6 separate regions of the Homo sapiens genome follow, and all the other regions are linked to region 1. Evidence: promoter capture Hi-C in human tissues and cell types (Jung and others, 2019). All regions are on one chromosome and are shown on one strand. Each heading gives the region's core, a stretch centred on a gene start or on the middle of the fragment in contact. The rest is flanking DNA. Distances are from core to core; before and after follow the strand shown.

Evidence for each region. Contacts are between HindIII fragments. The study calls those that stand out against the background at their distance.
Region 2: a fragment that was not itself captured here is called in contact with the fragment with the promoter of APOBEC1 in region 1 in 1 of the 25 tissues and cell types used here (spleen).
Region 3: a contact is called between a fragment that was not itself captured here and the fragment with the promoter of APOBEC1 in region 1, in 1 of the 25 tissues and cell types used here (hippocampus).
Region 4: a fragment that was not itself captured here is called in contact with the fragment with the promoter of APOBEC1 in region 1 in 2 of the 25 tissues and cell types used here (spleen and stomach).
Region 5: a contact is called between a fragment that was not itself captured here and the fragment with the promoter of APOBEC1 in region 1, in 1 of the 25 tissues and cell types used here (H1 embryonic stem cells).
Region 6: a contact is called between a fragment that was not itself captured here and the fragment with the promoter of APOBEC1 in region 1, in 2 of the 25 tissues and cell types used here (dorsolateral prefrontal cortex and spleen).

The regions. Positions count from the first base shown.
Region 1 is chr12:7,663,527-7,667,365 of GRCh38, forward strand. APOBEC1 (apolipoprotein B mRNA editing enzyme catalytic subunit 1) reads right to left here and starts at 2,382. Exons shown (of 5, transcript NM_001644.5): 1 at 2,331-2,382. The coding sequence starts at 2,346. RefSeq lists an enhancer at 3,087-3,381. The HindIII fragment of the contact is 14,417 bases long and covers 1-3,839 here.
Region 2 is chr12:7,249,926-7,253,976 of GRCh38, forward strand. No RefSeq gene overlaps it. Among named protein-coding and RNA genes, the nearest start is that of ACSM4, 52 kb to the right of the region's middle. The HindIII fragment of the contact is 4,546 bases long and covers 1-4,024 here.
Region 3 is chr12:8,111,382-8,115,567 of GRCh38, forward strand. It overlaps a transcript of CLEC4A not described here. Among named protein-coding and RNA genes, the nearest start is that of CLEC4A, 10 kb to the right of the region's middle. The HindIII fragment of the contact is 5,099 bases long and covers 1-4,186 here.
Region 4 is chr12:7,231,107-7,234,965 of GRCh38, forward strand. No RefSeq gene overlaps it. Among named protein-coding and RNA genes, the nearest start is that of PEX5, 43 kb to the left of the region's middle. The HindIII fragment of the contact is 7,187 bases long and covers 1-3,859 here.
Region 5 is chr12:7,295,446-7,299,448 of GRCh38, forward strand. No RefSeq gene overlaps it. Among named protein-coding and RNA genes, the nearest start is that of ACSM4, 6.6 kb to the right of the region's middle. The HindIII fragment of the contact is 5,413 bases long and covers 1-4,003 here.
Region 6 is chr12:7,205,512-7,209,315 of GRCh38, forward strand. PEX5 (peroxisomal biogenesis factor 5) reads left to right here. Exons shown (of 16, transcript NM_001351132.2): 11 at 2,148-2,291; 12 at 2,499-2,569; 13 at 2,946-3,158; 14 at 3,494-3,659. Among named protein-coding and RNA genes, the nearest start is that of PEX5, 18 kb to the left of the region's middle. The HindIII fragment of the contact is 4,293 bases long and covers 287-3,804 here.

The DNA.
Region 1 (3,839 bases), core at 1,132-3,631:
GGGGCCCTTGAACCAGTAATCTACTCCGAGGGAGCCTTACATAAACAGAGGCCACATCATAGGAAAAAGGCATTTGATGATGGGAAGACACTTTCTCTGAAAGAGCTGAAGCAGCAGTGAGAAGTTCAGAAAGGGACGGTGAGACATATGCTGTGTCTACACTGATCAATATTATTCCTGGGATGCAAAGACAAGGATACCAGCCACATGACTGGGGACAGTTTGAGGTATAGAACACACCACCTTCATAAGAAAAGTCCAGGGAAGGTATTAGCTACTACAATCAAATAATGTGTTTGGTCTTTCCCCCAGTATGCCACTTAAAAAAGAATTTTTTTTTTTTTCCCGAGATGGAGTTTTGCTCTTGTTGCCCAGGCTGGAGTGCAATGGCGCGATCTCGGCTCACTGCAACCTCCGCCTCCCTGGTTCAAGTGATTCTCCTGCCTTGGCCTCCCAAGTAGCGGGATTACAGGCATGTGCTACCGTGCCCAGCTAATTTTGTATTTTTAATAGAGACGTTGTTTCTCCATGTTGGTCAGGCTGGTCTCAAACTCCCTACCTCAGGTGATCCGCCTGCCTTGACCTCCCAAAGTGCTGGGATTACAGGTGTGAGCCATCACACCTGACCTTAAAAAAGAATTCTAACAGATGAAGAACATAAAGGAGAAAATAAATTGTTACTTCAACTCCAAACTGATATCTATATTACCTTCTGCCCCATCACACTCACACTATTGCAATAGTCTTCTAACTGGTCTCCTTGCTTCCAGTCCAAAACCCATCACATGTCAAGTAAATGTGTCTAAAGCACTATTTTAGTCATATCTCTGTGCTATTCATAAATTCTCCAAAGATATTCCCTCTACCATAAAGAAAAACTTTCATTCCTTGAGCCTGGCATTCGAAGTCCTCTATAGTATAATAACACTTCAAATTTGCTTTCTGGTCTTACTGCAAATTGTTTACATAAATTTTTTGTAGCCTAACCAGTTTATTCATTATATTCCAGACACAAGTCTCTATAAAAGCTTTTAAATTCTGTTCATCAATAGGATTCAATCAACCTGGAATCTCCTCTTCTTTGTCGATCCAAAGTCTGCCCTTCTGGCCTGGCATGGTGGCTTACACCTGTAATCCCAGTACTTTGGGAGGCCGAGGCTAGTGGATCACTTGAGCCCAGGAGTTCAAGACCAGCCTGAGCAATAAAGCAAGACCTCATCTCTACAAAAAAATTAGCAGGGCTGGTGGCCCATGCCTGTTGTCCCAGCTACCCAGGAAGGTGAGGCGGGAGGATCTCTTGAGCCCAGGAGGTCAAGACAGCAGTGAGCAGTGATCACACCACTGTACTCCAGCCTAGGCAACAGGGCGAGTCTTAAAAAAAAAAAAAAAAAAATTTGGTTAGGCATGGTGGCTCATGCCTGTATTCCTAGTACTTTGAGAGACCAAGGGTGGAGAATTGCTTGAGCCCAGGAGTTCCAGACCAGCCTGGGCGAAGTAGTGAACCCACCCGCTAGTCTCTAAAAACAAAATAAGATAAAAATTTTTTTAGGTCTACACTTCTCTTAGAATCCAGCTCAAATCCTAGCTCAGCTGAAATTACTTCCTTCAGCCTGAAGTGTTCTTCCTCTCCCATGCATTTTTCTAACACTGACTGTGCACAAATTTATCAATTAGTTATAGTCAATTCATTTGTCAATTAGCACATTGTTCTCATGCTATCACGTCTGTTGTTACCTTAAACTGTTATTTAAACAGTTGTACTTTTACTTAACTTTTTTTTTATTTTTGTGAGACAGAGTCTTGCTCTGTTGCCCAGGCTGGAGTGCAGTGGCGTGATCTCAGGTCACTGCAACCTCCGCCTCCTGTGTTCAAGTGATCCTCCTGCCTCAGCCTCCCGAGTAGCTGGGACTACAGGCATGCGCCACCATGCCTGGCTAATTTTTGTATTTTTAGTACAGATAGGGTTTCACCATGTTGGCCAGGCTGGTCTCAAACCCTGGGCCTCAAGTGATCCACCCTCCTTGGACTCCCAAAGTGCTGGGATTACAGGTGTGAGCCACAGCGCCTGGCTACTTAATTTTTTATCATGGTGAAACAAACACTGATTTGGTTAAAGTCACTTGGAGATGTAAATATTTACTAATAATAAACCATCTTATTTAAGACTAATATATTAATCAATAATAGGGAAGTTTGAAAACACCCACAGATGCAAGAATCAGCAGGACACACACACACACACACACACACACACACACACACACACACACACACACACACCATTCTTGCATTGTTCAAGAATACTTGCCAAGCCCCCGGATCCATTTTACCTTTCTCAGAAGTCATGGTGCTCTGTCTCTGGACTTCCTCCTCTGGAGTCATAAGTTGTGCTGATTGTTCCTGGACTTTGTTGCTTCAGGTGTGCCCACTGCCACCTGCTTGGGCAGAGGATGACTCATTCCCGCATCTCAGGCAGTTATGGGAATCTGAGCTGTCTGTACAAACAGGGGGCCGACTGAGAGGGACATTATCGTGGGGATTTGCATCTTTAGTGATGAGAAAGCCTATGATGCAAATGACATGAATTTTGTAGGGTGGATCACTGGGTACCAAATTCCAAAGTTCTTCAATGACATCTGAATTTGGTAAACTTTCTCTTTCTTTAAATAAAGATTAAGGCAAGGTGGATCCATCATTCTTTTTTGTTTTGTTTTGTTTTATTTATTTATTTTTCATTATCTCCTACTCTGCATCAAGGATGCATCATTCTTTTTTTTTTTCTTTGAGACGGAGTTTTGCTCTTGTCGCCCAGGCTGGAGTGCAATGGCACAATCTTGGCTCACTGCAACCTCTGCCTCCCAGGTTCAAGCGATTCCCCTGCCTCAGCCTCCCGAGTAGCTGGGATTACAGGCGCCCAACACCACGCCCGGCTAATTTTTTGTATTTTTAGTAGAGACGGGGTTTCACCATGTTGGTCAGGCTGTTTTTGAACTCTTGACCTCAGGTGATCCACCCGCCTCGTCCTCCCAAAGTGCTGGGATTACAGGCATGAGCCACCGTGCCTAGCCTAGGATGCATCATTCTTTAATGGAGAGATGAGAGGAAAAATAAAGTTAAGAGAGACTTAATCTGTAACTATAGCTTGAAAATTTTTATGTTATCTGGTGAGCACACTGTGGCCTTGGCTTTCAGCTGTTATTCACCTATTTCCAACTTCCTCTCATTTTGCTCTCTGTCCTACATCCGTGTTGGAGAGGGGAGGGGAGCTATTAGATACAAAATGAGAAGGACCTTGGCCTCTGAGTCAGCTAATTTGTGTACAGGTCTTTGGTGCTCTCTTCATCCTTGAATCTAAGATTAAGTGTGTGGCCAAGTCCACTTCTGCCCTTTTTTTTTTTTTTTGAGACAGAGTTTCGCTCTTGTCACCCAGGCTGAAGTGCAATGGCGCGATCTCGGCTCACTGCAACCTCTGCCTCCCAGGTTCAAGTGATTCTCCTGCCTCAGCCTCCCAAGTAGCAGGGATTACAGGCACCCACCACCACACCAGGCTAATTTTTATATTTTTAGTAGAGACAGGGTTTCTCCATGTTGGCCAGGCTGGTCTCAAACTCCTGACCTCAGGTGATCCACCCGCCTCAGCTTCCCAAAATGCTAGGATTACAGGCGTGAGCCACCTCTCCCAGCCACTTCTGCTTTTTTATCCCCCTTGAAAAAGTAAATGCCATACTTCCCTATGCCATTGCTCTCTGTTGCCTGAACCCTGGGTCAAGTTCAAGCCAAAAATTCCTCTGAGTCTCAGCACTTACTCCTAGAATTGAGGTCACTTTTTCAAGGCCTAA
Region 2 (4,051 bases), core at 502-3,001, 410 kb before region 1:
CTGGGAGGTGGAGCTTGCAGTGAGTCAAAATCGTGCCACTGCACTCCAGCCTGGGCGACAGAGTGAGATTCCATCTCAAAAAAATAAAAATAAAAATAAGAATAAAAAATAAAAATTCCTTTCCTTGCTTGTAAAGCAAGGATAATAGATAGAAGCCTACTATCTCTTATCCACGATTCCAAAATCTGAAAAGCTCTGATAATCAAAAATGTTTTTCATATCTAATTTGGCAGCAAAACCTGATCTGAGATGAGGTGAAACTAACTATAGTCTTTATTTATCTTAATTAATGGGAATATTCACACATTTCACTACAGAAATATTTACGTATATGATTTCAGTATGCTGCCCCAGGCCTTGCTAGGGGAGTAGAGATGGTTCTAAGTACCATATGACCTTTCCAAAAACTGAAAAATTCTGACTTCTAAAACATTTTAGCCATGTGGGATTTAGATAAGGAATAATGTTCAAAGATTTGCCACCAGGTACAAGAAAAGAATGTTCACTAAGCACTCAGAACAGTGCCTGACACCTGGAAAACAGGAGTTTCATTCCTCTCCTTGTAGTTTTGCCTATGAATAAGGAGCCCTTTTTCAAAAGTTAGCTCCAGGCAGCTGAACCTGGGCCAGATATTACAAATACAAAACTGGGTGAAAAAATATTTGCAGTTTACTTAACAGACAAAGAGTTAATATCCCTAATATGTAAGGAGTTCTTAAAGAAGAAAAAGGCCAAATCTGGTAGGAAAACAGGCAAAATACATGAATGGACAGTTCACAGGAAAAAATAAATGCTCCTTAAATATTAAAAAAATAAAATTTAAAAATAAAATATTAAAATTAAATTTTATTTGGAAATATTACTATGAACTCATAATTTTTTAAAAATTGTATTTCCTAGTTGTGTGTACTAGAAGTCCTGGAATCAGTGGCATCTAATAGTAAGATGCCATTGCTTCTGGAGCCTAAATCTTGATTTCTAAACATCATTCTTGATATAAGGGGCTCCTTGGTAAAAATGATATATCCACAGGTGGAGTACAAAAAATACCGGGCGAACTTGGGACTTCTTTTTGCATCAGAAAGTAAACAAGTGATCAAAAAATGATAATGACATGTCAAAAGGACACAAAAGTCAACTTGAGAGAGCTCTCACTGGCCAAATTTGAGACAATTTCTGTATCAAAAAGAATAATCAAGGCACCATGGAGGAGCCAAGATGGCCGAATAGGAACAGCTCCGGTCTACAGCTCCCAGCGTGAGTGACGCAGAAGACGGGTGATTTCTGCATTTCCATCTGAGGTACCGGGTTCATCTCACTAGGGAGTGCCAGACAGTGGGGGCAGGACAGTGGGTGCAGCACACCGTGTGCCAGCCAAAGCAGGGTGAGGCTTTGCCTCACTGGGAATCGCAAGGGGTCAGGGAGTTCCCTTTCCTGGTCAAGGAAAGGGGTGACAGACGGCACCTGGAAAATCCAGCCACTCCCACCCGAATACTGCGCTTTTCCGACCAGCTTAAAAAACGGCGCCCACAAGATTATATCCCGCACCTGGCTTGGAGGGTCCTACGCCCACAGACTCTCGCTGATTGCTAGCACAGCAGTCTGAGATCAAACTGCAAGGTGGCAGCGAGGCTGGGGGAGGGGCGCCCACCATTGCCCAGGCTCGCTTAGGTAAACAAAGCAGCCGGGAAGCTCGAACTGGGTGGAGCCCACCACAGCTCAAGGAGGCCTGCCTGCCTCTGTAGGCTCCACCTCTGGGGGCAGGGCACAGACAAACAAAAAGACAGCAGTAACCTCTGCAGACTTAAATGTCCCTGTCTGACAGCTTTGAGGAGGGTAGTGGTTCTCCCAGCACGCAGTGGGAGATCTGAGAACGGGCAGATTGCCACCTCAAGTGGGTCCCTGAACCTTGATCCCCAGCAGCCTAACTGGGAGGCACCCTCCAGTAGGGGCAGACTGACACCTCACATGGCCGGGTACTCCTCTGAGACAAAACTTCCAGAGGAACGATCAGATAGCAGCATTCACGGATCACGAAAATCTGTGGTTCTGCAGACACCGCTGCTGATACACAGGCAAACAGGGTCTGGAGTGGACCGCTAGCAAACTCCAACAGACCTGCAGCTGAGGGTTCTGTCTGTTAGAAGGAAAACTAACAAACAGAAAGGACATCCACACCAAAAACCCATCCGTACATCACCATCATCAAAGACCAAAAGTAGATAAAACCACAGAGCAGAAAAACTGGAAACTCTAAAAAGCAGAGTGCCTCTCCTCCTCCAAAGGAACGCAGTTCCTCACCAGCAATGGAACAAAGCTGGACGGAGAATGACTTTGACAAGTTGAGAGAAGAAGGCTTCAGACGACCAAACTACTCCGAGCTACAGGAGGAAATTCAAACCAAAGGCAAAGAAGTGGAAAACTTTGAAAAAAATTTAGACGAATGTATAACTAGAATAAACAATACAGAAGGGTGCTTAAAGGAGCTGATGGAGCTGAAAGCCAAGGCTCGAGAACTACGTGAAGAATGCAGAAGCCTCAGGAGCTGATGTGATCAACTGGAAGAAAGGGTATCAGTGATGGAAGATGAAATGAATGAAATGAAGTGAGATGGGAAGTTTAGAGAAAAAAGAATAAAAAGAAATGAACAAAGCCTCCAAGAAATATGGGACTATGTGAAAAGACCAAATCTGTGTCTGATTGGTGTACCTGAAAGTGACAGGGAGAATGGAACCAAGTTGGAAAACACTCTGCAGGATATTATCCAGGAGAACTTCCCCAATCTAGCAAGGCAGGCCAACATTCAGATTCAGGAAATACAGAGAACACCACAAAGATACTCCTCGAGAAGAGCAACTCCAAGACACATAACTGTCAGATTCACCAAAGTTGAAATGAAGGAAAAAATGTTAAGGGCAACCAGAGAGAAAGGTCAGGTTACCCTCAAAGGGAAGCCCATCAGACTAACAGTGGATCTCTCGGCAGAAACTCTACAAGCCAGAAGAGAGTGGGGGCCAATATTCAACATTCTTAAAGAAAAGAATTTTCAACCCAGAATTTCATATCCAGCCAAACTAAGCTTCATAAGTAAAGGAGAAATAAAATACTTTACAGACAAGCAAATGCTGAGAGATTTTGTCACTACCAGGCCTGCCCTAAAAGAGCTCCTGAAGGAAGCACTAAACATGGAAAGGAACAACCGGTACCAGCCGCTGCAAAATCATGCCAAAATGTAAAGACCATCGAGACTAGGAAGAAACTGCATCAACTAACGAGCAAAATAACCAGCTAAATCATCATGACAGGATCAAATTCACACATAACAATATTAACTTTAAATGTAATGGACTAAATGCTCCAATTAAAAGACACAGACTGGCAAATTGGATAAAGAGTCAAGACCCATCAGTGTGCTGTATTCAGGAGACCCATCTCATGTGCAGAGACACACATAGGCTCAAAAATAAAAGGATGGAGGAAGATCTACCAAGCAAATGGAAAACAAAAAAAGGCAGGGGTTGCAATCCTAGTCTCTGATAAAACAGACTTTAAACCAACAAAGATCAAAAGAGACAAAGAAGGCCATTACATAATGGTAAAGGGATCAATTCAACAAGAAGAGCTAACTATCCTAAATATATATGCACCCAATACAGGAGCACCCAGATTCATAAAGCAAGTGCTGAGTGACCTACAAAGAGACTTAGACTCCCACACAATAATAATGGGAGACTTTAACACTCCTCTGTCAACATTAGACAGATCGACGAGACAGAAAGTTAACAAGGATACCCAGGAATTGAACTCAGCCCTGCACCAAGCAGAACTAATAGACATCTACAGAACTCTCCACCCCAAATCAAAAGAATATACATTTTTTTCAGCACCACACCACACCTATTCCAAAATTGACCACATACTTGGAAGTAAAGCACTCCTCAGCAAATGTAAAAGAACAGAGATTATAACAAACTGCCTCTCAGACCACAGTGCAATCAAACTAGAACTCAGGATTAAGAAACTCACTCAACACCGCTCAACTACATGGAAA
Region 3 (4,186 bases), core at 882-3,381, 450 kb after region 1:
GTTGGCCAGGCTGGCCTTGAACTCCTGACCTCAGATGGTCCACCTGCCTCAGCCTCCCAAAGTGCTGGGATTACAGGTGTGAGCCACTGCACCTGGCCTTCTAGACATTTTTTAAAGCATTCTCTCTCTGTGTGTATCTGCCTATGCAAAGATCCTTTAATAAAATAAAAATTACATGTAAATTGTTTATATTATTTTTTAAAAAATTAATAATGTTCTGAAGTTCTTTCTTTGCCTATGCATTTGTATTTGCTTATGTTTAGTTTATGTTTAGAGCTATTCAGGTTCTCTAAAGTATGGATGTACCGTAATATATTTAACCACTGTCCTTGTTGATAGTAACATTTCTGACATTTTTGACACTAAATTTTACACTGAACATCTTTTACATATAATATATACTTAAATGAAAAATTTAAAGGATAGATTCCCCAGAAATGGACTTGGTGGGTGAAATGCGATTAATTAAAATTTAAAAAACTTCAACTTTTTTTTTTAGACTCAGGGGGTACATGTGCAGGTTTGTTATGTGAGTGTGTATATGTGTGTGTGTGTGTGTGTGTGTGTGTGTGTGTGTGTGTGTATTTTATTTATTTATTTTTTTTAGACAGAGCTTTGCTCTTGTTGCCCAGGCTGGAGTGCAATGGTGCAATCTCTGCTCACCTCAGTCTCCGCCTCCTGGGTTCAAGCAATTCTCCTGCCTCAGCCTCCTGAGTAGCTGGGATTACAGGCATGCACCACCATGCCCGTCTAATTTTGTATTTTTAGTAGCGATGGGGTTTCTCCATGTTGGTCAGGCTGGTCTCAAACTCTTGACCTCAGGTGATCCGCCCAGCTTGGCCTCCCAAAGTGCTGGGATTACAGGCATGAGCTACCGCACCTGGCCTACGTGGGTATATTGCGTGATGCTGAAGTTTGGGATATGACTGATCCCATCACTCAGGTAGTGAGCATAGTATCCAGTAATGTGTCAACCCTTGTCTCCCTTCCTCCCTCCCCCAACATTTAAAATTTTGATAGATTTATTTCTATATTATCTTCTGCCTAATTCATATACTTAATATAAATTCTGAGGCTGTTTGTTTCTCTATTTTGTCAACAGTTTATTTTTAAAATATTTAGTTAATATATTGGGTGAAAAATATATTCATTTCTCTTACTACAGTGAGATTGTGCTCTTTTCATATATTTATTTACTATCTTTTTTTTTCATGTGTTGTCATGTGTTTAAGTTTTAGTTGTGAGTTTGTCTTTAGTGTGTTTTCCTTATGGGCAATCCTGTTCTACCTCAGTTGTGGGAGTATTTCTTTGGAGTGGTTTTGCATTTGCCTTTTCTAAGTCCTCAGGGTTATTATCAGATTGAGACCTAATTTTAAGTTAAATTCCTGGCTCAGAGTCTCCTTTATATCCTAAGTCATATAAGTTTGTACTCCAAAATTACATATATCATAGATAATATAAGTTGGTACTCCAAACTTACATACACAGAGGCCTGGGATTTTCCCTTCCACTTTTTATCATGAATATTTTCAAAAGAAGTTGAATGAATAATACAGTTAATAACCATATATCCATTGTCCATTTTTTTTTATTTTATTATTATACTTTAAGTTTTAGGGTACATGTGCACAACGTGCAGGTTTGTTACATATGTATACATGTGACATGTTGGTGTGCTGCACCCATTAACTCGTCATTTACATTAGGTATATCTCCTAATGCTATCCCTCCCCCCTCCCCCCACCCCACAACAGTCCCCAGTGTGTGATGTTCCCCTTTCTGTGTCCATGTGTTATCATTGTTCAATTCCCACCTGTGAGTGAGAACATGCGGTGTTTGGTTTTTTGTCCTTGCGATAGTTTGCTGAGAATGATGGTTACCAGTTTCATCCATGTCCCTACAAAGGACATGAACTCATCATTTTTTATGGCTGCATAGTATTCCATGGTGTATATGTGCCACATTTTCTTAATCCAGTCTGTCGTTGTTGGTCCATTGTCCATATTTAACAATTGTTGACATTTTGACAAATTTGGCTTTCTGCTTAGGTGATTGGTTTTTGTTTTAGTGTTGAGTTGTACAGTCTTTAAATTCAGAAAACGTTCTAGGGAGAAATTAGCAATGTACTTGAAGTCTCCTTAAAGCTCTACCAAAAGCTCCAATGGCTTTTTTGTCCCTTAGCAGCAGCCATCTGCAGGTACAAAGACCAGATTCTCAGCCTCCTGCCCATGCTCAGAATTAGCAAACCTCAGAATAAAGCAGTTGTAGCAATCTGCTCACCTTTCAGATTTCTCTCTTCTTGGATCTTATTGTCGTCTCACCCCCTACCCAGGTTCTTATTGCCTAACAGGAATGAGAGACTAGAAGAGTTAAATGGGGAAGAGGGAAAGCTAATACAAGGGTGCATTATTAAGTTGGTTACTGCTTTGGGCAACTGAGACTCCATTCTTCTGGAGCTCTGAGGAGCTGTGTAGAATGCACCTTAAAATTGTGTCCCCAAGTGATAAAAGAGGGGACAATTTATCCACTAGCTTCCTTCCATCATTGGATCAGGGTTTCCTCATGGTGTGTTGGCACCTGCACAGTTTCAGGTTTGTTCTGTACAGGGGGCATTCGTACTTGTAATGTCAGAGGATCCCTGGGACGGAAAGCAAGAGATTCATGGTTGGCTGAGGCAAGGTGTTATCAGGTTGCACTTGCCCGAGGCTGGTTTCTGTAGCAAGAGCTGAAGTAAAAGGTGAAGATATGATACCTACAAAAGAGGAGTCCATACGGTGCTCAAATTGCCCTAAAATTGGCTAGTAGCCTTCAAGCTAATTTGTTGCTTTTTGACGTACTTGCATTAATGTTTGAGCAATTCCTTTATTTCTTTTTTTTTTCTGAGATGGAGTCTTGCTCTGTCGCCCAGGCTGGAGTGCAGTGGCGTGATCTCGGCTCACTGCAAGCTCTGCCTCCCGGGTTCACGCCATTCTCCTGCCTCAGCCTCCCGAGTAGCTGGGACCACAGGCGCCCGCCACCACGCCCGGCTAATTTTTTGTAGTTTTAGTAGAGACGGGGTTTCACCGTGTTAGCCAGGATGGTCTCAATCTCCTGACCTCGTGATCCACCCGCCTCAGCCTCCCAAAGTGCTGGGATTACAGGCGTGAGCCACCGCGCCCGGCCAATTCCTTTATTTCTGATGGAACAAAATATTGTAGACTCACCTTGTACTTTCCTACGAATTTTTCTTTTTTCACCCAAAGCCCAGGGAGAGGTATTACTGCTGAACTCTTTCTAGTTTACCTTTTGCTTAATTTACAGTTTTGCAAAAATTATGAATTATATGGAAGTCTCAATTCCAGCTCCCTGCTTAGTGCTTGTCCAAGGCTTTGTTTCCTCATTTTTTTGTGTATTTAAATCCAAACCCTTAGCCATTACTGCATCTAATGATTTTCTACTCCAGTTAGATGACTCTCAGCTCATGAAGGTTACCTCAAGTTGCATCTTTACCTGTTGTCCCATGTTGCTATATTCTGATTCACTGAGGACCCAATAGCATTTCTCAAGAATAGACCAATTACTCGCTGAGAGGGAATGATTTCCTCTGAACTATCCTACTGGCCTCCTTTGAATTCTCCTACCAATCTCCAGGTTGGTTTGCTTTAGGCTCCAATCTGCATGGATTTGCCAAAGAGGGTTCAAGCACCGCTAGTTTATTAGGGCTAAGTGCAGACTGTCTGTCTACCTGTGGCCTGGACCACCTGAACAGCCTTTTCAGTATGTCACCAAATCCTGGAAGCTTTTCGATTTTCTGGCAAATATGTTTGAACACCCAAATGTGAAATATATTGCCTTAAAAATCCAAAGAGGCCTATGAATCCTGCCTTTCAAAATGGCACATTATTTGATATTTTGGAGGGGATATTTAAGTGCCCCAGACATCAATCAGAATCAACTGAAGGGCTGGTTAAAACACCAATTTTTGGGCCCCATTCTCAAAATTATGGATTTAGTACATCTAAGGTGGAGCCTAAGAATATGCATTTCTAACAAGTTCCCAGGTGATGTTGTTGGTTTAGGACCACACTGAGAACCACTGCCTGATAGACCAGGACTTCAATGGCATGAGGCTTACCAAGGCATCTAGGGTACTGTATTGTCCTGCTTTCCTTGTAGCATCTGTAGGATATCATCAATGGAGTGAACC
Region 4 (3,859 bases), core at 1,148-3,647, 430 kb before region 1:
AGAAAAGAGAAGTGAGTAGAGGGAGCATTGAGGGTAGAGAAACCAGCAAATGCAAAAGCTATGTCACTGGAGTTGTAAAATAAAGTGAATGGGATCAGTTTCCCTCTGTTTTTCTGCATCTGTGTGTGCTGACTCCATTTGGCCACATGCCAGTTGGTACACAGATGTTTGTCCCTTGCTGTTTTCTACAGCAGAGGAAATCACAATTGTGAATTCACAAAAAGAGTAACTTTAATGTAGATTGGGGCACTATGGAGAGGAAACCTGTCATGCACTGCTCCCCTGCCATCTCACAGATTATTCTGCCTTGCCATCCAGGAGTCTCACCTCTAAATTTTTCCACAGCACTCAGCCCCTTGGGAAATGTCAAGTCCCTCACTGAGATGGAGATGACTTCCCTCATTGAGATGACTTCCCTCACTGAGATGACTTCCCTTATAGGAAGCAGGCTCTCCAGGATGGACCATCTTACCTGGTTTTTGTGAAATTCTAATAAATAAAAATTTCCCCATCCCATTACACCCATGATTGACTCATACAAGATCCAGTTCTCATGTCTTCCGAGGTAGACATCTGTGCCCTCTCTGGAGTGCCCTATATGCTGTGTTGAAGTATTTCTCAGCAGCCTAAAACAATTACTTATTTTTGAAACATTTATTATTGAAAATCTCAAAAGACATACAAAAATAGACAAAATTGTATATTGAATTCTCATGTATCTACTGCCCCATTTCAACAATTATTACCTTATGGCTAATCCTGTTTTTTCATTACTCCTAACCAATCTCCAAAATTACATTTTATTCATAAATAGCTTTAGTATATATATCTAAAAAACAAGGACTCTAAAAACAAACATATTCTCCAATTATACCTAAAAGTTAACAATAATTGCTTCTTACGATCAAATATCCACCATTCACATTTTCATTGATTATCTAAGTCATGCATCTTTTCTTGCTACCATTTGTTCCAATTAAGCTCACACATTGGGTTAGTTGATAAGTGTTTTGTGTATCTTTTAATCTATGAATTTTCTCATTACCTTCTTTTTCCCTTGCAATTTGTTATTTTCAAGAACTGAGTTGTTGGTTTTTTTGAATATTTCACAGCTTGAATTTTGCTAATTGCATACATATGGTGTGGTTTACATGTTCTTCTGTTCCCCTACATTTCCTGTAAATTGATCTAGAGGTTTAGTCAGACTCTTGCTTGATTTTTTTTTTTTTTAACAAGACTACTTCTTAGGCTGTATAATGTTGTTCTCTTAGGAGGCACATAATGTCTGGTTAGGTTATTTTTTTCATGATGATAGTAGCCATTGATGATTATGACTAGATCCATTAATTTATTGCTTTTTGAAGATAAAAACTTGTCTGCATTTCTTTAAATAGGGTCTACTCTGTGCCACTCCCAAAATAATAAAATTGAAGCCACGCTCTCTGCTACCTTATATTGTCCAGGTAGGAGATCATAGTAATGATTATGACAGCTATTATTAAGTGAGCTCTTACGGTTTTTTATCTAAATTTCTAACATAAAGGTAGGCAACAAGGAAAGTCCAACATTCTCTAAATGCACCCCAAGGGTAATCTCACATTATTGCTTTTATTTTCCCCTCAATGTCCTTTTAGAATAAAGAGCCTAGACACAGGAATGAGGGAAAGAGATGCTGACAATTTTGCAGAATATCCCTTTAATGTAGTTCAAGTTTCAAACATGGAGAAAGTAAAGAAAAACATATTTGCTATTAGAAAGATATGAGCAAAATAAAGACAACTATTTTGAATGTACCATAATAAGGGTTCTGTACTTGAACTAAAAATACACTAAAGTGGGAAGTCTTAGCCGCTGGTCAGCTGCTCAGGTGTTGATTATAAACACTGTAGTGTATTTGGGAATGGTGTTGCTGAATTCACAGTACAGGCATAGGTAGCAATACTAAGATGGTAAGGCAAATGTTAGTGTCTAGCATTTTATTACATAAAAGCAGGCTCAAATTAGCAGCAGTTATAAAATTACCATTATTCATTTTAAGATAGTCCTTTGCCTTCATGTGTATCTTGCCTTTTTTTATACATTGGTCAAAAGGAAATAGTAAGTTCTCAACCTGAATGAGACAAACATTAGTATTTACTTTAACTATTGTATCATTCCGAAATTGACCCAATTTTTTAAAGATGTTTATTGTAGAGTTCTATTGTTTGTTTTTTGTTTGCATATCCATTTTTACTATATATTATTTAACAGAGTGTGGAAGTTAGCCTAATTTGTTGCGGTTTATATGTTTGTTTTTTCCAATAATCATGAATAGGTATTACATTATATTAAATGAGTTTTCCGATTCTGTTGAAAAGATAAAATAGTTTTTCTCGACTAACCTGTTAGAGTTAATTTAAAAATATTTTCAAATGTTAAATTTGCATTGCATTTCTTTCCTGATTTTATTTTCTTGGGTAAAATTTCTTAATTTTTGTTTGTTTGAACCTTTGCATTTAGAGTCATGAATAAAATGAGCATATAATTTTCCTCTCAAAAAATAAGAAAAAATTAAAATGTTCATTGCATACTAAAGTATGAACAAAAAATAAAAAATAAAATGTTCTTTAGGATTTTCTTAGAAAAAACTCTTTCCACAAAATCAACAAACCCTATAACTATGAAAAGTAAAAGAGAAAAATACTCAAAGAAAGAAAATCAGGAGTGAAAGAGGAGACACTGCAACTCCTGCCACAGAAATGTGAAGAATCCCTAGAATAATTATACGTCAACAAAATGGACAACTTAGAGAAAATAAAGTCCTGAAAGCATACAACCTACCAAGACTGAATTATGAAGAATTAAAAAGTCTGAACAGACCAATAACAAATAAGGAGATTAAATTAGTAATCAAAAACCTTCCAGCGGGTGTGGTGGCTCACGCCTGTAATCCCAGCATTTGGCAGGCCAAGGCTGGTGGATCGTTTGAGGTCAGGAGTTTGAGACCAGCCTGGCCAACATGGTGAAACCCTGTGTCTACTAAAAATACAAAAATTAGCTGGGTGTGATGGCACGCACCTGTAATTCCAGCTACTTGGCTGGCTGAGGCAGGAGGATCGCTTGAACCCGGGAGGTGGAGGTTGCAGTGAGTGAGATTGTGCCACTGCACTGCAGCCTGGGTGACAGAGCAAGACTCCATCTCAAAAAACAAACAAACAAACAAAACCCCAAAAAACAAAAAACAAAAAGCCTTCCAACAAAGAAAAGCCCAGACCCAAATGGCTTCACACATGCTTTCTACCAGAATGAGGGACAAAGATGACTTGATAATCTCAAAAGATACAGCAAAAGCATTCCACAAGATTCAACACCCTTTGATGATAACAACTCTCAACAAATTAGGTATAGAAGGAATTTACCTTGACAAAATAAAGGCCATATATAAAAAGCACACAGCTAACATCATACTCAACGGTCACAAACTGAAAGCGTTTTCTCTCAGATCTGGAACAAGGAAATGATGTACATTCTCACCACTTCTATCCAACATAGAATTAGAAGTCCTAGCCAGAGTAAGTAGACAAGAAAAGAAAATAAAAAGTATTCAAATCAGAAAGGAAGAAGTAAAATTATCTCTGTTTGCAGATTACATGATCTTATAGATGTGCAGAAAATTATATTTCTATATATGATATATAGAAAATTCTAAAGATTTACCAAAAAAACTTAGGATAAACAAATTTAACAAAGTTTCAGGATACAATATCGATGTACCAAAATCAGTTGTGTTTCTATACACTACAATAAATTGTCCAAAAAGGAAATTAAGAAAACAATTTTGGCCGGGTGAGGTGGCTCACACCTGTAATCCCAGCAGTTT
Region 5 (4,003 bases), core at 1,283-3,782, 370 kb before region 1:
GATGGATCCAGGGCAGGCAGCCATGCCACCCAGCAATGCTTTGGGACAAAATAAAAGTTTGGTGGCCATTGATGTTGCTTCTGGCAACATCCGTTCTACATTCTGGAAGAATGTAAAACAAAAATAAAATTCTAAGTCCCTCAATCATCTGAATGGGCCCTTCCTTTTGATCAAGGGCTTTCCAAAGTTAACCAGAAAGACTAGTTCAGGTCATGAAGAGAAGGGGGAGCTGGACATATCTCATTATACCCTACTCCCTTTTGGAATTACTGATAGAACAAACTCAAGTCTGATAAGAAACATTTGCAATCTATTCTCTCTGAAGCCTGCTACCTGGAAGCTTCATTTGCATGATAAAACATTGCTTTCCACAACCTTTATCTTAACCCAGACATTACTTTCTATTGCATCTAAGTCTTTAAACAGTAACATAACTCTTTCACCCAATTGCCAATTGGAAAATGTTTGAATCTACTTGTGACCTGGAAGCCCCCTGCTTTCAGTCATCCTGCCTTTCTGGACCTAATCAATGTACATCTTACATGTATTGACTGATGTCTTATGTCTCCCTAAAATGTATAAAACCACACCGTGGCCCTACTACCTTGGGCATATGTTCTCAGGACCTCCTGAGGGCTGTGTCATGGGCCATTGGTCATTCATATTTGGCACAGAATAAATCTCTTCAAATATTTTACAGAGTTTGATTCTTTTAATCAGCATTACAAAGATATTTTTCTGTGTCTAAACCATACCCTTTCTTGTCTTAAACCCCCAAGAATAGTCTCTGTTGTAATAACATTTTAATCAAAAATAAATAAATAAATAAATAAACACAATACAAAAGCAAGCAGTACAAGATGTCAGAAGAACTTTACGTTCTTGGAGTTCTGTAAGAAAAAACAGAGGTTTCTCTCCAAAAAAAGGGTCTGGTGCCTTCTCTGTTTTGTTTAAGAAATACTGAGCTGTTAGACATTATTTTAGGTCCGTCAGGCAGCAGAGGGTTGCAAGAGAAAGGAGAGAAAGGCAGAAGCAAATGGAGAAAATAAAATTCAGCTGACTGAGAAGAAAAAGAAACTTTTTCTCAAAAAACAAATTCTAGGAGAAAAAGCATAAAAGATACACACCACACATACACACAAACACACACACACACACACACACACACACACACACACACACCCCTTGGATATTTGCTTTTAATTAAGCTGACTTTTAACCATAGAGCTCTTAAAAAATCCTTTTAAATCTGATTACCATATTTTAGCTGGGACGAACTGCCAGTATTTCAAAAGTAACACAAATATCAAACCAGAAAGGATTTGATTTAGGAATCAAAACCAGGCTGCCGTGGTGAAAAAAGGGCAGAATCTTAGCTACTGAACCACAGCATGGGGTGACCACTATTGCTCTCTCAGTTTGGCGGGCTAGCAAAAGGTGGCCTTGTTTTGTAAATAAAGACCCTCAGGTAGTCAAAAATTTTCTTTTCTTTTTTTTTTTTTCCCCTTTTGCTGGCTGTGTTTTCTTCTTTCGTCTCTTTTGTTGTTGTTCAGCTGTGGGAATTTAGCCAATTCAGAGGCATTGTTCCCCATAATTTGGAACTTTCCTTCAAATTCGACCAAAGGAAATCTACCAGTTGGTCAAACCCAATGGGAAAAAGACCAAAACAACAAAAACAACCACCACCACCAAAAACAACAAACCCAGAAACAAACAAAAAAACACTTAAGCAAACAAACAAACAACTGGTCAATTTATACAATTACTGAGCGCTCTAATGGTAAGGAGAAATTCAGACCGGCTGGGTGTTAATCTTAACTTTTAGTAATTCAGGAGAATTTCCAAGACAAAATCCCAATTCGGCTACTTACCTAGGAATGGGGCCCAGGCTGAAGATTGCCCTCCGCCATTTTAAACGCAGGAAAAAACCTTAAACTTGCCTTCCCTGTTGGAAGTGAGCTGAAACTCCTGAAAAGAATCACCTGCTTTCCATCATTACGGAAGCAGGAAAACTCACCTGCCTTGTTGGAAGTGAGTAAAACCCCAGAAAAGGAGTTGTACAGCCAAAGAAACCTTAGATATCAACCAAATTTTGGGAGATCATCGATTTTCTGCAGTGGGGAGCTCCCTAGACCTGAGCAGATTGTCCTATTAGTTTGAGCAATAAAGATCGTTCAAGCTGGTACCAAGCACCAATAGGACATTTGTCGGTTAGGATCACCTCCACTTAGATTCCCTTCCACTGGTTGCCAATTTGTAAACCAAAAAATATCTGAGACAGGTCTCAATCAATTTAGAAGTTTATTTTGCCAAGGTTAAGGGCAATGCCTAGGAGAAAAAAAGCACAGAATCACAGAAACAGTCTGTGGTCTGTGCCTTTGTCCAAAGATAATTTTGAGGGCTTCAATATTTAAAGGGGAAAAGCAGGCTGGAGGGGGAAAGGAGAGGGTATGGTCACATTACAGAATCCACATGTTGCAAGAGAAAAGGAGCAGGTAGGTGAATAGTCAATTATATATTCATCTCATGCTCAGTAAATCGGCACTTTACCTAAGTAGCTGCCTATGCAGATAGGTAACATTTTATCAGTAGGAAGAAAAAGAAAGTCAGCTTCTTGTATGACTCAGCCTTCAGCTTAATTTTTTTCCTTTTGGCATAATGAATTGAGGTCCCAAGTTTTTGTTTTCCTTCCACAGATCTGGAGTCAAAAGACCTGGGTTCCAGTTCCGCCAGCAACCTGCTGTGTATCCCATCAAATCACCTCTCCTCTTGGGGCCTTCTTATTAGTAAAATGAAAAGATTGGTCTGTGTACTTTCAAAGACTCATCCAGCCTCAACAATCTAACAGTCTGCAGGTTTCATACCTGGGAAGAGGGAATACCTACTTTTAAACAGGCCATTACTTTAATAGCTGTTGAGCTTCTACTGTGTGCATGGCAGACATCCAGCAGTGGTCAGGATGTGTACAGTCTCTGAGGGTATTAGTTTTCTATTGCTGCTGTAATAAATTACCACAAACTTAATCGCTTAAAACCACATGAGTTTATCATCTTACAGTTCTGAAGGTCAGGATCCTGCCATCGGTTTCACTAAGCTAAAATCAAGGTGCCAGCAAGCTTGTATTTATTCTGAAGCCCCAAGAAGAGAATGTATTTCCTTGCCTTTTCAAACGTCTAGAAGTCATCTGCATACCTTGGCTGGTGGCCTTTCCCTGCACCTTCAAATCAGCAGCAGAGTCATCATGTCACCTTCACTGACTAACCTTCCTGCCTTTCTCTTATAAAGACCCTTGTGATTCTATTAGACCCACTCAGATGTTCTAGGATAATCACCCTATTTCAAGGTCCTTAAGGTAATCAAATCTGTAATGTCCTTTTTCCTATTTAAAGAAACGTAGTCACAGGTTCTAAAGTTTAGTATGTAGATATCTTTAGCAGGGAGAGCGTCTATTCAGTCTGGCACCCTGGGCTTAGCCTTCATTTGTTAAAAGACCAGGAAGCTCTCTTCATATATAAGCCCATAAGAGATACTGTCCTTTGGGTGTTATACGGGCTACCAATGAACTCTTAAAGTGAAAAATGCCACTGTCTGACCACTGCCACCATCACTGTCACCAACAAGCAACATTTGGGCATAAACTTTGTGAAACCCAATTCCTGTTGCCAGCAACTAACATCCACAAGGGCATAGACAGGCAATGTTTATGTTCAAACCCTTCAGCAACATTGTCTTAAGATAATTTCCAAATGAGATAGCATCAGAACAGATATCCAGGAGCAGCCAGGCACACAGTAGATGCTCAATAAAAGCCAGGAGTTTGGAGGTTTTCTCATAATCTTCATTAATCAGTGAGTTGAGGGTTCTGATATGCTTTTTGGTTATACTACTTTGGTAGGTTTGCCAGGCCAGATCCAGTTATATCACAATAATCAAGCATGCCAATGTCTTGGGCTGCCCGACAACAATGTTGAGAGGCTCTGATAAAGACCACTGCACCAGGGTA
Region 6 (3,804 bases), core at 1,183-3,682, 460 kb before region 1:
GGGACAAACTCTTTGTAGTGATCATTTCTGCAGTTTGATCCTATGAGATTTTGGAGCAGACCAGACCGTGTATCAGATAAAATTAATGACTTGGGTTTGGCTTTTCAGGATGTAACAGTGAAGCCAAGCTTATCCTGTGTTCTGTGGGTTGTTGAGGGATCCCCCAGAGTACTCTTTTTCCATCATCTATGCAAATATTCTAATTTTGGAAAATTCCTCTTTGATCAGCAATTGATGAGACTTCAAGGAGGGTAGATAATATGGATGAGAGGAAACTTAGAGAATCCTGTGGTTGCAAGATGGTGGCATTGAGTTGTTGTATTATCTAATGAAGACACCTGAAGAGCATTCGCATCACTTCTGGCTGTCATATACAGGCCATCATATCTTAAGGAAGTATCTAGAGCAGTGAGGATAATAGCTATTTACAGATAGTATCTTAAGCTTTTTGGTAAGGCGTTGGTGAAGATTCCCATTTGATGTTCTCAATGGCTCTGAGAGGCAGGAATTACTTTTATTAGGAAACTGCATTATAGATGACAGTAATCTCTGTTTTCTGTAGAGTGGCTTAAAACACGTATTAATGATGAACAATAGTTGAGGTTGAATGCAGAAGGATTTATTTTATTGAACTGTAATAGTCTAGGGCAAGGGCCAGCACACTGGCTTGTGGGATAAATCTTTATGTTTTTAGTGATCCACTAGCTGAGGATGGTTTTAACATTTTTAAATGGTTGGAGAAAATCAAAAGAGTAATACTTTGTGACAAGTGAAAATTATATAAAATTCAAATTTTAGTGTCCATAAATAAAATGTTATTGGAAGACAGCCGTGCTCATTTGTTTACTTATGTCTGGCTGCTTTCGCACTACAACAGTAGAGGTGAGTAGTTGCAGCAGATCCACGAAGCCTGAAATATTTATTATCTGGCCCTTCGCAGAAAAAGTTTGCTGATCACTGGACTAGCGTCATTTTCTGCCTTCTTAGTTTTTATATTATGCAGAGATGTCCAAAAACACACTTGTTTTCAATATAAATATACTTTCTATACATTTATCTCAAATCTACTATAATATGTCTTTCTTCTTAAACCCCCCATTGTAATTATTTAATTTTCATTTGTGACAAATAATTTGCATCTGATCATGACTTAGAATTTTGCTGGTAAGATTTAAGTGTTTTTGATTCTTTATCATTTTCACAATAATAATGAAAAAGGGCCTCATGTCTTTATTTTGTACAGTTTTATCTGAATTTATTCTTAACTGCATTTAGAAAGACCTCCACCTGTTGTTTTGCATCTTGTTTTCGTTCTGGTGTATTATTTTATGATGGTAACTACTCTCCAAAAACGGACTTTTTATTTGCATGTCCCAGATTTTGCAGCTTACTAGTGACTTCCCCTTTACCTCATTTCTTCTCTGCCTAGTGTAAAATGCCAGTTGACAAAGCTTTGCAGATAGTATCGTAACTCTTCTCTAAAGTGAGAAATCCTCAGCTGGAAGAGAATGGTGTCTTTCTGAAGTATTCTCTGCCATCTGGATTTTGGGATCCAGCTTTTGCTTACTGTCAGATACAGATTAATATTCATGATTATTAAGAATGAAATCGGGGAATAAATTAACATTTTCAAAATGCTTGAAAATGTTTTATCTAGTTGACATGTGGAATGACTCTGAGCTAAGTAAGAGTTATATTTGAATAGCAGGACTCCAAACAACATTTCCTTTATACATCATCACATTATTGAAGGATAACAAGAAATGCACTTTGCATAGCTAGGGACACTTTGTCTCATTACTATAAGCAGATCCTGTTGAGACATTCTGCCCCGTGGTGAGAAGTCAAGGTGTGGGAATACAAGCCTGTGATGACTTCCTAAAATAAGCTTATTTCCAGCGCAGATGAATTTGTAGACTTTCCTAGCTTCCCAGGTATCATGAACAGGAGATGGGAGCACAAACCTGATACCAAATGATTTTACTTGTGTCATACATGATCTTTATAATATGGAGAATTTGCCAGCAATTAATTCCGGAACCTGTTTGGAGGCCCTCAGCTTCTCTGCCTGCTGGTTGTCATCCTCACATCCCTGCTGTTCTGACGGTGCCACCTCTCAGTCCATCTCTCACGTGCTTTTCTTGTAGGGGTACCAGTTTGAGGAGGAGAACCCCTTGCGTGATCACCCTCAGCCTTTTGAAGAAGGGCTGCGGCGCCTTCAGGAGGGGGACCTGCCAAATGCTGTGCTGCTTTTTGAGGCAGCTGTGCAGCAGGATCCTAAGCACATGGAAGTGAGTGACTCCATAGTCTCATTTCTGGCTAGAGACTGCTTCCTCCATCTTGAGAAAGGCCCCAAGGAGAGTAGTGCAGATGGGTTAGGGCCTGGGTGATGGCCTAGGATAGGGGCTTGAGAGCGAGATGGTGAGTGGGAGAAGCCAGGGGGAAGGGCGAATGGAGAGGTGAATATGGGGTGATGGAATCTGTCAACTTCCCTCTAGGCTTGGCAGTATCTGGGTACCACCCAGGCAGAGAATGAACAAGAACTATTAGCCATCAGTGCATTGCGGAGGTGAGTACACTGAAAGGTGTGGGTGAGGTGCTTCCAAGGCTCTGCATATAACCTTTTGAATGACAGAAGCCCAGACCTGGATCCTTGTCTTCTTTCTGAGTGCTATCAAGAGTGTTTTCTCATGCTGAAACTCTGAGGGTTGGAGTGAATTCCATTCCTTCATCGGCTTTTGATTTTATTTGCGGCTTTGGTTGGCTCCTTGCCTGCTAAAACCTTCCCCTTAGATCTGTAACTTTATTATTAACTCATGTCAGAGGAGTCACAGGTGAGGCCATTGTGACTCTGCATTTCAAAGCTTGGCTTGGATCCCAGGGTGCTCACATGTGCCAGTGTCAGTCATTGCAGATATCAAGTCTGCCCATCCCTGATCAAACAGGTGTCTGGAGCTAAAGCCAGATAACCAGACAGCACTGATGGCGCTGGCTGTGAGCTTCACCAACGAGTCCCTGCAGCGACAGGCCTGTGAAACCCTACGAGACTGGCTGCGGTACACACCAGCCTATGCCCATCTGGTGACACCTGCTGAAGAAGGGGCTGGTGGGGCAGGACTGGGCCCCAGCAAGCGTATCCTGGGATCTCTCTTGTCTGAGTGAGTATGAGGGGTTCCTAGGATGAGGAATTACAGTAACCTAAGTCCCAGTAGGAGGGTGACCTTGGTTTTGGAAGTTTGGATGGATTGAGACTGAAGGGTCCTGAGAATGGGATGGGAAACCTAGGATCAAGTTGAAGGAGGTCTGCATTCTACAGTTCAGTGCTAGGATGAAATAGAAAAACAGGCTTCTATATTGGACTTTGAGAGTAGAAGAGATGACTGATAGATTGATGAATGTTGGGGATATGGTTGATCAATGAAGAAATTAATTTGGGGGGATGGGAATAGAGACATTCATCTACCTACTTTGTGTTTTTTTCCTTTTCATCCAGCTCCCTGTTTCTTGAAGTGAAAGAGCTCTTCCTGGCAGCTGTGCGGCTGGACCCTACCTCCATTGACCCTGATGTGCAGTGTGGCTTGGGAGTCCTTTTCAACCTGAGTGGGGAGTATGACAAGGCCGTGGACTGCTTCACAGCTGCCCTCAGCGTTCGTCCCAATGTGAGCCCAGGGGAGGAATGGAAATGGGACATGACTGTGTACCTTATTGAAGAGCCATTTGTTGGGAAGCTGGGTTTGATGGTGCATGCCTGTAGTCCCAGCTACTTGGGAGGCTGAAGTGGGAGGATCACTTGAGCCTGGGAGT